Linked DNA regions of Homo sapiens: regions 1, 3 and 4 are each linked to region 2. Evidence: promoter capture Hi-C in 16 types of primary human blood cells and fetal thymus (Javierre and others, 2016). All regions are on one chromosome and are shown on one strand. The core of a region is centred on a gene start or on the middle of the fragment in contact, and the rest is flanking DNA. Distances in the headings are between cores, read along the strand shown. Region 1 holds the start of KRT40 (keratin 40). Region 2 holds the start of KRT15 (keratin 15). Region 3 has its middle 2.9 kb from the start of KRTAP3-1. Region 4 overlaps KRT39 (keratin 39).

Evidence for each region. Contacts are between HindIII fragments. The CHiCAGO score rates a contact against its expected background, and 5 or more counts as called.
Region 1: a fragment that was not itself captured here is called in contact with the fragment with the promoter of KRT15 in region 2 in 2 of 17 cell types (naive CD4 T cells and non-activated CD4 T cells); the score reaches 5.1 in naive CD4 T cells.
Region 3: a fragment that was not itself captured here is called in contact with the fragment with the promoter of KRT15 in region 2 in 2 of 17 cell types (naive CD4 T cells and total CD4 T cells); the score reaches 5.4 in naive CD4 T cells.
Region 4: a contact is called between a fragment that was not itself captured here and the fragment with the promoter of KRT15 in region 2, in 3 of 17 cell types (naive CD4 T cells, total CD8 T cells and naive CD8 T cells). The highest score is 7.3, in naive CD4 T cells.

The regions. Positions count from the first base shown.
Region 1 is chr17:40,981,942-40,984,641 of GRCh38, reverse strand. KRT40 (keratin 40) reads left to right here and starts at 316. Exons shown (of 7, transcript NM_001389244.1): 1 at 316-815; 2 at 1,514-1,596; 3 at 2,179-2,335. The coding sequence starts at 369. It overlaps LOC107985072 (a long non-coding RNA gene), which reads right to left. Exons shown (of 4, transcript XR_001752886.2): 4 at 785-2,314. The HindIII fragment of the contact is 1,530 bases long and covers 511-2,040 here.
Region 2 is chr17:41,517,616-41,520,315 of GRCh38, reverse strand. KRT15 (keratin 15) reads left to right here and starts at 1,426. Exons shown (of 8, transcript NM_002275.4): 1 at 1,426-1,986. The coding sequence starts at 1,489. RefSeq lists an enhancer at 87-1,086. The HindIII fragment of the contact is 23,808 bases long and covers 1-2,700 here.
Region 3 is chr17:41,004,847-41,007,546 of GRCh38, reverse strand. No RefSeq gene overlaps it. Among named protein-coding and RNA genes, the nearest start is that of KRTAP3-1, 2.9 kb to the left of the region's middle. The HindIII fragment of the contact is 4,275 bases long and covers 1-2,700 here.
Region 4 is chr17:40,960,746-40,963,445 of GRCh38, reverse strand. It overlaps KRT39 (keratin 39), which reads left to right. Exons shown (of 7, transcript NM_213656.4): 4 at 883-1,044; 5 at 1,159-1,284. All of the region lies in intron 1 of LOC107985072 (a long non-coding RNA gene), which reads right to left. Among named protein-coding and RNA genes, the nearest start is that of KRT39, 4.9 kb to the left of the region's middle. The HindIII fragment of the contact is 5,264 bases long and covers 1-2,700 here.

The DNA.
Region 1 (2,700 bases), core at 26-2,525, 540 kb after region 2:
AATGAGTTGTATCTATAATTATTCATTGGCCAAATTTTCTCTTTCTTTTATTATTCTGTCAAAAGCACAATGCTTCCTATGACGATTTTCTGAAATAAGTGTTTTGTCTTGCACATGGAAATGGTGTGGGTCCTGCTTTGGTAACCTAAAGTTATCCCTATTTTATGAGGCATAAAACTCTTCCTCAGTAAATAAACAACTCTAATGAGATGTTTGTACGAAAACTGGCACCATCAGTGATAAAGAAAACATCCGGTGCAGTCTGTAAACACCCATTTTGGGGGGTTATAAAACTCTCAGGAGAGGAGAGTTTTGGAGTCAAGGCAACTGAAGTTTTGCAGCCAGTCTCTGTCTTTGCTTCTGGAAGGATGACTTCTGACTGCTCCTCCACACACTGCTCTCCTGAGTCCTGTGGCACGGCTTCCGGTTGTGCACCTGCCTCAAGCTGCTCCGTGGAAACAGCTTGTCTCCCCGGTACCTGTGCTACATCCCGATGTCAGACTCCAAGCTTCCTATCCAGGTCTCGCGGGCTGACTGGTTGCCTCCTGCCATGCTACTTTACTGGGAGTTGTAATAGTCCCTGCTTGGTGGGGAACTGTGCCTGGTGTGAGGATGGGGTGTTCACTAGCAATGAGAAGGAGACGATGCAGTTCCTGAATGACAGACTCGCCAGCTATCTGGAGAAGGTGCGCAGCCTGGAGGAGACCAACGCAGAGCTGGAATCCAGGATCCAAGAACAATGTGAACAGGATATCCCAATGGTGTGCCCGGATTATCAGCGTTACTTCAACACCATTGAAGATCTCCAACAAAAGGTCTGTGTCCTGTTGCCCTAGTGCTCCACCTTCCTGATCTATGGTTTGCTTTATCTTTCTACTAGAAGGGGCTGTTTTACAGAAGGAAACCAAGGGAAAGGAAAATTCTAAGAGTTAGTGATACATAGGGGAGAGCACCGGACTGAAAGTCAGAAAACCTCAGCATCAGCCCCAGAGCTACCCCTGATTACTGAGTGACTATAATAAAGTAACTTGCCTGTAGACTTTTCCTTCATCATCTATAGAATGCAGAAAAACTGTATTATATCCAAAATCGCTTTTGTACGTGACACTGAACATTTACATTATCTGAACACAGATCATGAAATGCCATCTTTTTAACTACCTAGTAATCATTTTCTTCTCTCCATGAATTTCTATTATTATGGGAGAGGATATACTCATAATACAAACTACTGATGGAGAAAACATTAATGGTGTTCAACTGCCTGAGAATGTTGCAAAATGTCTTATGTTATTAAAAAACTAAACCTTTTTATTTCATTATTTTGTTTCTAAATTGGCTCTGCTTTTTTTCTTCATGAAGTGACAAGGTTAATAAAAAAAAGCAGGCTGAGGGTGATTTTATACTTTCTTATAAAGACTTTCAAAAGATAGCTAATGGCATAGCTGTTGGATAGAAGTTTACTTAGGTTTCTCTCAAAGAATCATTTATCACATAATGACTTGCTTCCCAGATCTTATGCACGAAAGCAGAGAATTCTAGACTTGCTGTACAGCTTGACAACTGCAAACTGGCCACTGATGACTTTAAGTCAAAGTAAGTTTAATTTAATTTTATTTTATTTATTTATTTTGAGATGGAGTTTCACTCTTGTCACCCAGGCTAGAGCTCAATGGTGCTATCTCAGCTCACTGCAACCTCTGCCTCCTGGGTTCAAGTGGTTCTCCTGCCTCAGCCTCCTGAGTAGCCGGGATTACAGGCAGGCGTGCACCGCCACACCTAGCTAATTTTTGTATTTTTAGTAGAGACAGGGTTTCACCATGTGGGCCAGGTTGGTCTCGAACTCCTGACCTCAGGTGATCTGCCCGCCTTGGCCTCCCAAAGTGCTGGGATTACAGGCATGAGCCACCACGCCCGGCTTTAATTTTAATTTGAAAATAACTTATGGCTCTCTCTCTCTCAATCTCTCTCTCTCACACACACACACACACACAAATATTCTCTATATAATATTTTAAAGTTAAGAATGTTTTAAAAGCTTGAATTTATCATTACTTAGGAATTAAGAGAAATTATGCACATGGCTTCCTGAAGTCCGTGTGTCGATCCTCCATGTATCCCCACACTTTGCACAGCGTTCAGCAAAGTAAGCGTTGGATTTCTCTTTTGCTGTGAAAGGTACGAGAGTGAACTGTCCCTTCGCCAGCTGTTAGAGGCTGACATCAGCAGCCTGCATGGGATCCTGGAGGAACTGACCCTGTGCAAATCTGATCTGGAGGCCCATGTGGAGTCTCTGAAGGAAGATCTCCTTTGCCTTAAGAAAAACCATGAAGAGGTAAGGAAAGTGGCAACTCCGCTGAAGGACTCCGAGAGTAACGTACTTACATTGACAGATGATCTGTTGATGTTTGTAAATCGAATTTGGGCAGATGTTGTTTAAGCTGGAATAAAACTACTTGAGGCAGGGCCAGGCATGGTGGCTCACACCTGTAATCCAAGCACTTTGGGAGGCTGAGGCAGGAGGATCACAAGGTCAGGAGTTCGAGACCAGCCTGACCAATATGATGAAACCTCATCTCTACTAAAAATACAAAAATTAGCTGGGCATGGTGGCAGGCGCCTGTAGTCCTAGCTACTCGGGAGGCTGAGGCAGGAGAATCACTTGAACTCAGGAGGCGGAGGTTGCAGTGAGCCGAGATC
Region 2 (2,700 bases), core at 177-2,676:
GAGAGTTGAGAGCGCCCCTTGCCACAGGGAAACAGAGACTTAAAAAGGTAAATGTCCACAGTCTTACCATGGTAATTGGTAGGGTCAGGATTTGAACCCAGGCCTCACAGTCTTACCATGATAATTGATAAAGCCAGGATTCAAACCCGGGCCTGAGGGACTCCAGAGCCCTGTCCACTTCACCATGCTGCAACCTGGGCTAGGAATCCTCCTCCTGAGTTTCTGTAAGCCCTGGGGCCAGGTCCAGAGGGCTGAGCCACACCTCCAAGTGGCACTGCCCACAGGTATCAGGTGTCCCTGGAAAGGTGTCCCTGAGCTGGTGGCAGAGAAAAGGGCTCTCCTGAGTGTTCAACTCCCCGTCTGTGTGAAGCAATGCCTTGGTCTTCAAGATCTCCGGTGTCTTCCAGCCTGCCTGCCAGTCTCCCTTCTCTTCCCTTCCACAGCATTCAGGCACATAGAGCCTTCTGCAGCGGCCCGTCCCCAGCCAGCACTTGACAGGACAGATGGGGGCTAATCTGGCCCTGCTAAGCAGCGACATGCCTCTCCTGGAGAAGGCAGGGGCTTCCTGGAACTTGCCCCAGCCTTATCAGCGGAGGTTTGCCCCAACACATCCCAGAAACGAGCAAAGGTTCAGCGCCGTGCAGTTGGCAGGTGTCGGGATCATCAGTCATCCCCTTGTCAGTCCCAAGCCTGCTGGGCTTTTGTGAGGGTGCCAGGAACACAGGCTGGAGGATGGCAGGAGGGGAGTAGAGGTGGGAGGAGGGGAGTCCATCTGCAGCACCAGGTAAGGGGATGGATGCTGGCTCCTCTGGTCACCTCAGCTGGAACACTACTCAAGGTCCCTGGCTCCTGTCCTCCACCTGCCCCCAGGGGCCCTGCATTCCCATCCCCAGGGCCTCCACTCTCCCTGAGCCCTGCAGTCTCTCACTCACTCACTCACTCACTCATTCACTCACTCACTCACTCACAGGGTTTTGAGTTGGATAACACAGCATAATGATCGGCCAGTGGACTCCCAAACTAAGAACACGGAGCTGTCCTCTTGGGGAGAGGCTCAGGGCTCGGGGAAGTGAAGTCCAGCTGAGGGCACAGTTGGCCTGAGCTGCTCTCAGTACAGGCAGAGGCCTTGGTAGCTGTGCTGTGATGAGAGTTCGCTCCCTGCTGCTCTCTTCTGGCATGGAGAGATGAACCTGTAATCCAAGTGTTAAAACCGTGCCCTGGGGAAAAACACTATTAATTCTGAATCATCTCTTTTGTTGCATTAAAAAAAAATAGAAGAGAAAAACTTCACATGACCCACTCAAGGTGTGCAGGCAGCTGTGTTTGTCAGGAAGGCAGAAGGAGTTGGCTTTGCTTTAGGGGAGGAGACGAGGTCCCACAACACCCTCTGAAGGGTATATAAGGAGCCCCAGCGTGCAGCCTGGCCTGGTACCTCCTGCCAGCATCTCTTGGGTTTGCTGAGAACTCACGGGCTCCAGCTACCTGGCCATGACCACCACATTTCTGCAAACTTCTTCCTCCACCTTTGGGGGTGGCTCAACCCGAGGGGGTTCCCTCCTGGCTGGGGGAGGTGGCTTTGGTGGGGGGAGTCTCTCTGGGGGAGGTGGAAGCCGAAGTATCTCAGCTTCTTCTGCTAGGTTTGTCTCTTCAGGGTCAGGAGGAGGATATGGGGGTGGCATGAGGGTCTGTGGCTTTGGTGGAGGGGCTGGTAGTGTTTTCGGTGGAGGCTTTGGAGGGGGCGTTGGTGGGGGTTTTGGTGGTGGCTTTGGTGGTGGCGATGGTGGTCTCCTCTCTGGCAATGAGAAAATTACCATGCAGAACCTCAATGACCGCCTGGCCTCCTACCTGGACAAGGTACGTGCCCTGGAGGAGGCCAATGCTGACCTGGAGGTGAAGATCCATGACTGGTACCAGAAGCAGACCCCAACCAGCCCAGAATGCGACTACAGCCAATACTTCAAGACCATTGAAGAGCTCCGGGACAAGGTGAGTCCTCGGATGTCAAAGAGAGGGGAGCAGGTGGCTGGTACCCTGTACACAGCTCTAATGTCAGTGTTACTGCTGACTCAAGGAAATCCTTTCCTGCCCAGGCAATGACTGTCTGGTATGTAATCTCAGCAAATTTGGAATGCACCTGCTGTCCAGGTGCAGAGGCCAGTGCACATCTTCTCAACTTGGTGGTGCTGGGGGAGGGAGAGAGGGGTCTTGGGAATCTGGTTAGGACCAACAGGGGCACAGGTGGGGGCAATTATAAAGAGCCAGAGGCAGTAGCTCACACCTGTAATCCCAGTGCTTTGGGGGGCCAAGGTGATAGGATTGCTCGTGTCCAGGATTTAGAGGCTGCAGTGAGCTATGACTGTGCCACTGCACTCCGGCCTAGGTGACAGAGTGGAACCTGTATCTAATTAAATAAAAATAATTAAAAAAAAAGAGCAACTCGCCCTCCCTACCTCATGCACCCTGCAGGCTTCTGCATAAAGTATTCCTTTACCTCTTTTGCAAGAATGGGATTGGAGTGTGGCCTCATGAGTTCCAGATGCTAGAACCTCTTGTCTTTTCCTATAAAGAGGTCTTTTGTGCCAAAAGTACTGTTGGGTCTTAGGAGACCTGGGAACTCATTACACATTCTGCCACCCACTCACTCACCATTTTACTCCCTAAGACTGGGTTCCTCATTCGTAAAATGCCTTCTTAACTGCC
Region 3 (2,700 bases), core at 120-2,619, 510 kb after region 2:
GTTTCCTACAGGCTCAGTTAGCTTGTTATTACTCTCTGCCCTGCTTTTGTCTCAGGATTATTGTGAGGACCAGATGCCCTGAAGTGTAGAAACCACCGTGTCCACAGCATCAACCTGTTACACATGAGAGACTCTCACCATTACTGCCATATGGAAGTTCCCAACTTTCTCACCAAAAGACATCTTTTAAAAATATTTATTTATTTATTTATTTATTTATTTCCGTAGCTTTTGGGTTACAGGTGGTTTTTGGTTACATGGATGAATTATATAGTGGTGGTGAATTCTGAGATTTTAGTGCACCCGTACCCAAGGAGTATACATGGTAGCTAATGTGTAGTGTTTTATCCCTGGCCTCCCTCCCACCCTCCACTTTTTGAGTCTCTAAAGTCCATTATATCACTCCATATGCATCTGCATACTTAGTTTAGCTCCCACTTATAAGTGAAAACATGGTTTTTTGTTTTCCATTCCTGTAATTTCCCACTCCATTTCACTCAGAATAATGGCCTCCAGCTCCATCCAAGTTGCCACAAAAGACATTGTTTCATTCCCTTTAACAGCTGAGTAGTATTCCATGGTGTATACATACCACAGTTTCTCTATCCACTCATTGGATGATGGATACGTAGGTTGGGCATCTTTTTATTTCTTGAAATATGTATTTTTCCCAAATGGCTTTCTTAAAAATGTTTATTAATTCCTTCATTTGTGTTCATAAATACATTTATAAATATCAATTAAATGTTTAGGATTACTATAGAATAACCTTTGTTACCATGCCAAGTTACCTTTTTTCTAGTCAAAAACAAAGAATTTTCATGTTTTCATACATGCTAGTAAGGGATAAAAATTAGAGTTTGTTTTTAATACCTAAAATAACTCGAAGTTCCTATTACTACTACCATGGTCTTTAGCATTCACGGGCCCTGGCCTAGTTATAAATCCCCAACTGGAAACCAGAAGATGTGTTGTTTTAGTCCTGGCTCTGCCTTGAGCTGCCTCTGTGGCCCTAAGCAAGTCAATTAAGTTCTTGGGGTCTCAGGTGTTAAAGCAGTAAAATGGGTTGGTTGATCACACCATCTCTAAGGTTGCTTTTCGTTTTAACATTCTATGATTCTAGATCATCCAGAAGCATTCTAAGTAACAAGTACCCCATGCAACTAACCAAGCCCATTCTACCTCATTACTTTTACTGCTTTCATTAGGAATAGCTCACACTGAGTGAGTATCTACTGGACATACTAATGAGGTAGAAGGTGGGACTCTACTCCAGAAGCGGGGCTCAGATACTGGACCAAATTGAGGGCTAGCTAAAACAGGATGGGGACAGAAACAGCTTTCCAATCAGACATGCCCACCAGCATGCTGTGTCAATTTACCATTGCCATGGCAACACCTGAGTTACCACCCCTTTCCATGGCAATGACCCAATGACCTAAAACTTACTACTCCTTCTTAGAAATTTCTGCACAAACCACTCTTTAATCTACATCTAATTAAAAGTAGGTAGAAATATGCAAAACTGCCCTGAGCTGCTACTCTCTGCCTACAGAGGTAGCCCTGTTCTGCAGGAGCAATCACAGAGCTGTAACACTGCTGCTTCAATAAAGCTGTTTTCTACCTCTGGCTTGCCCTTGAATTCTTCCCTAGGCAAAGCCAAGAACCCTTGCAGGCTAAGCCCCACTTTGGGGCTCCCCTGCCCTGCATCACTAACAGGTGAAGAAAGGCCACTAACAGGTGCAGAAACTCAGGCTGAGAAAGACTAAATTACTTGCAAAAGTTACATAAATCATAAGTGAGAGAGAAGGACTTAAACCCCAAACTAAGTCCGAAGTCCCTTCTCTTTCCACTACACCAAAGCACTCACCTTCCCCACAGACAGCAATATGTCAAAGAGAAATGTGACTATAGGTGGCTCTCTTTATTCAGGAGAAAGTATATGACACTTGACAATATATTCTCTACTATCCCTGTCAATTGTATCTTTTGTTGTTTTCTCTGTTTTCTCTGTGGTGATTATAGTCTAAAATAAAATGAGTGTATACAATGAGTATTAAAAAAGGTATCCGTGTTTCTAAGTTAAGAACAAACCTTTTTTAAAAAGTCAGACTTTACTGATTAGCAGTGTCAGCAGAGAAGAAATATTGGCTGCATCATTAACTTTGAATTGAAATGCAGAATGTTTGGCAACTCAAACACATTTTCAGTTCAACTTCAGCATCAATAATCAAGGTAAAACAACTGCCCTTAACATTAATAATTGTTTATCCTTGATAATATAATAAAAAACAAGATATTTCATTTTTCCTTCAAATTGTTATTGAGGCCAGGCACAGCGACTCGTGCCTGTAATCCCAGCACTTTGGGAGGCTGAGGTGGGTCTACTGTGAGTCCATTAAACTTCTTTCCTTTATAAATTACCCAATCTCGGGTATGTCCCTATAGCAGCATGAGAACAGACTAATACAGTATGGATGTGTCTACATGTGAGTAAGTGGAAAACTACACTGACACCATTTTGAAACTACAACAGAAAGCAAGTTTGAATGCAGCAACACAACTAAATAAAACTGAAGGAGAGCTCATCCCCTGTCTGATACATAAGAAGTTAGTGAGTTATTTTTACAGAATTAGGTAAACAGCAACAAGGATGTTCCGTCCAACATTCTGATGGACAGAAGCCGTGTTCCCTGAGAT
Region 4 (2,700 bases), core at 161-2,660, 560 kb after region 2:
CATGGCTGGGGAGGCCTCAGGAAACTTACAATCATGGCTTAAGGGGAAGCAGGCACATCTCACTTGGCAGCAGGAGACAGAGAGAGACCAAAGGGGGAAGAGCCCTTTATAAAACTATCAGATCTTGTGAGAACTCACTCACTATCCTAAGAACAGCATGGGGGACACCACCCCCATGATCCAATCTCCTCCCACTAGGTCCCTCCCTTGACACATGGGAATTATGGGAATTACAATTCGAGATGAGATTTGGGTGGGGACACAGAGCCAAACCACTGCTACGTACTACTCTGGTTTAGCCCTGAAAATACCTACTGCTACTAGCACTGGTTCAAGGTAGTATTTCAAATCCACTGGCTCCAACACAATATCTGGAGCCATAAGGGGAAGAAAGGCCTCCAACATCCCCTCCAGCTTTTCTACAAGAAGGAACCCAATTTTTCTGTCCTTACAGTCTTCCCATGTTTGTAGGCATCCCTATACAGGCTTCTGCCACCTCCCATTGGTACAAGTCAATATTGGTGCAAGTCAATATTGGCACAATCCCGTATTTGCACCATAGAGACTATAATCTCTCATGATCAATTCCACCTTTATCCTGTTTCACCCATTATCCAGCCCTGGAAATGATCTAAATTTTTTGGAACTCTGGTCTTGCTACTCATTTTTTTTTAATTTTGCACACATTTAAACACACAGTCCTACCTGAAAGAGTCTTAAATCATTTTATAGCATCTCAATAACACCTGTAAATCATGTATTCCTTTGTTGTGGGCTATATTTTAGACACAATTAAGCTAAATCGTAGCAGTTAGAGTGAAACAAGAACACAAAGGGGTTATCTGTTCACCAAGTGACTTCACAGTCTTTTTCTTTCCTTAGGAAATCAATTCTTTACAGTGTCAGCTTGGGGAGAGACTTGACATTGAAGTGACTGCTGCCCCTTCTGCTGACCTAAACCAGGTTCTACAAGAAATGAGATGTCAATATGAGCCCATCATGGAGACAAACCGCAAAGATGTGGAACAGTGGTTCAACACGCAGGTGGGGGATATAGAAAAGTCAAAAACAATAAGCTGATGCTGCATTTCTAGGGCCCTTTAATCAAAGTCATGTTTTCCTCCCATAATATTCTCAGTCTCTGGCTGTGTGTTTCAGATAGAGGAGCTGAATCAACAAGTGGTGACCAGCTCTCAACAGCAGCAATGCTGCCAAAAGGAGATCATAGAACTGAGACGCAGTGTGAACACTCTGGAGGTTGAACTGCAGGCCCAGCATCGAATGGTACTGAGCAAGCTGACCAAGCCTAGCTCAGCAAAGATGGAAACAGTCCCTTACACCTGTGTGCTGCAGTATTTCCCAAACTGTGTCTTTCAGAACAATAGTTCCTCATTTGTTAAAGCGTCTATGGCTGAAAAAGAGCTTTGTGGCCAAATAAGTCTACGAAACGCTGCACTAAACCAAGGTTAAACAGGGTGCCTTCCTGTGAGCCATTAATAAGCTAATATACACCATGAATCTCCAGGAAGGGGGTATATGGTATTCAGCATTCCAAAACTTATTTGACTGTGGATCCCCCCACTTTTTTTAGAACATCTCATGGTATTAATGATTCATGAAGTACACTTTGGGAAACACTGGGAGAGCATTTTATTATATGCAAAGCATTTTTACAAGCTATCACATGAGATTTATAAAGCAATCCTAAGAGGGGGGGTGGCATAATTATTAACGAATGTTACAGATGAGGCTCCAAGAGCTAAAGTGATTTTCCCAAGCAAATCCAAGGTAAGTTTCAGCCCACCTATTTTATAGAGACACTGAGATCCTGAGACATTAAGAAACTCATCCAAAGTCACAAAAGAAATAAGAGTCTGAGCCAGAGTTTAGATTCCAAAGCCAGTATCATTCTGTCTCATGATAATGCCTCTCTGAAGTAGAGAATTGCTTACATGCTCTGATGTGAAGGCTTTTGGGAAGACCTTGCCCCACACTGGTTTTGTCACCAGCTAGTCATGTGACCTTGGACAACATATTGAACCACTTGAACCTCAGTTTTCTCATCTATAAAAATTGGGATAATCATGCAAATAATAGGCTATTAAAACCTAAAATCCCATCATTATCCATAGACTTACAGAATGATAGAGCAGGAATGAAATTTACTCATCAGTTTCAACTTTCATATTTTACATATAAAGGAATTGATCTGGTGGATAAATTGTATATGGTAAAACATTGCTTCCTTCCTTTTTTAAGACACGAACACTCACTGAATGAAGTGCCATGGTAATGCTTTTTTTTTTTTTTCTTTTTGAGATGGAGTCTCACTCTGTCGCCCAGACTGGACAGCAGTGGCACGATCTCGGGTCACTGCAACCTCCACCTCCCGGGTTCAAGCAATTCTCTGCCTTAGCCTCCCAAGTAGCTGGGATTACAGGTGCCCACCAGAACACCCAGCTAATTTTTTGTATTTTTAGTAGAGACGGGGTTTCACCATCTTGGCCAGGCTGGTCTTGAACTCCTGACCTTGTGATCCACCCACCTGGGCCTCCCAAAGTGCTGGGATTATAGGCGTGAGCCACTGCGCCCAGCCAGTAATGCATTTTTAATGCCTGGGTGTGCATTAAGTTATTATTTTTTCTCTCCTAAGTAGGAAAGTGTGGTGCGAGACTATTGGTTGGTCAAGAAAGAGAAAGT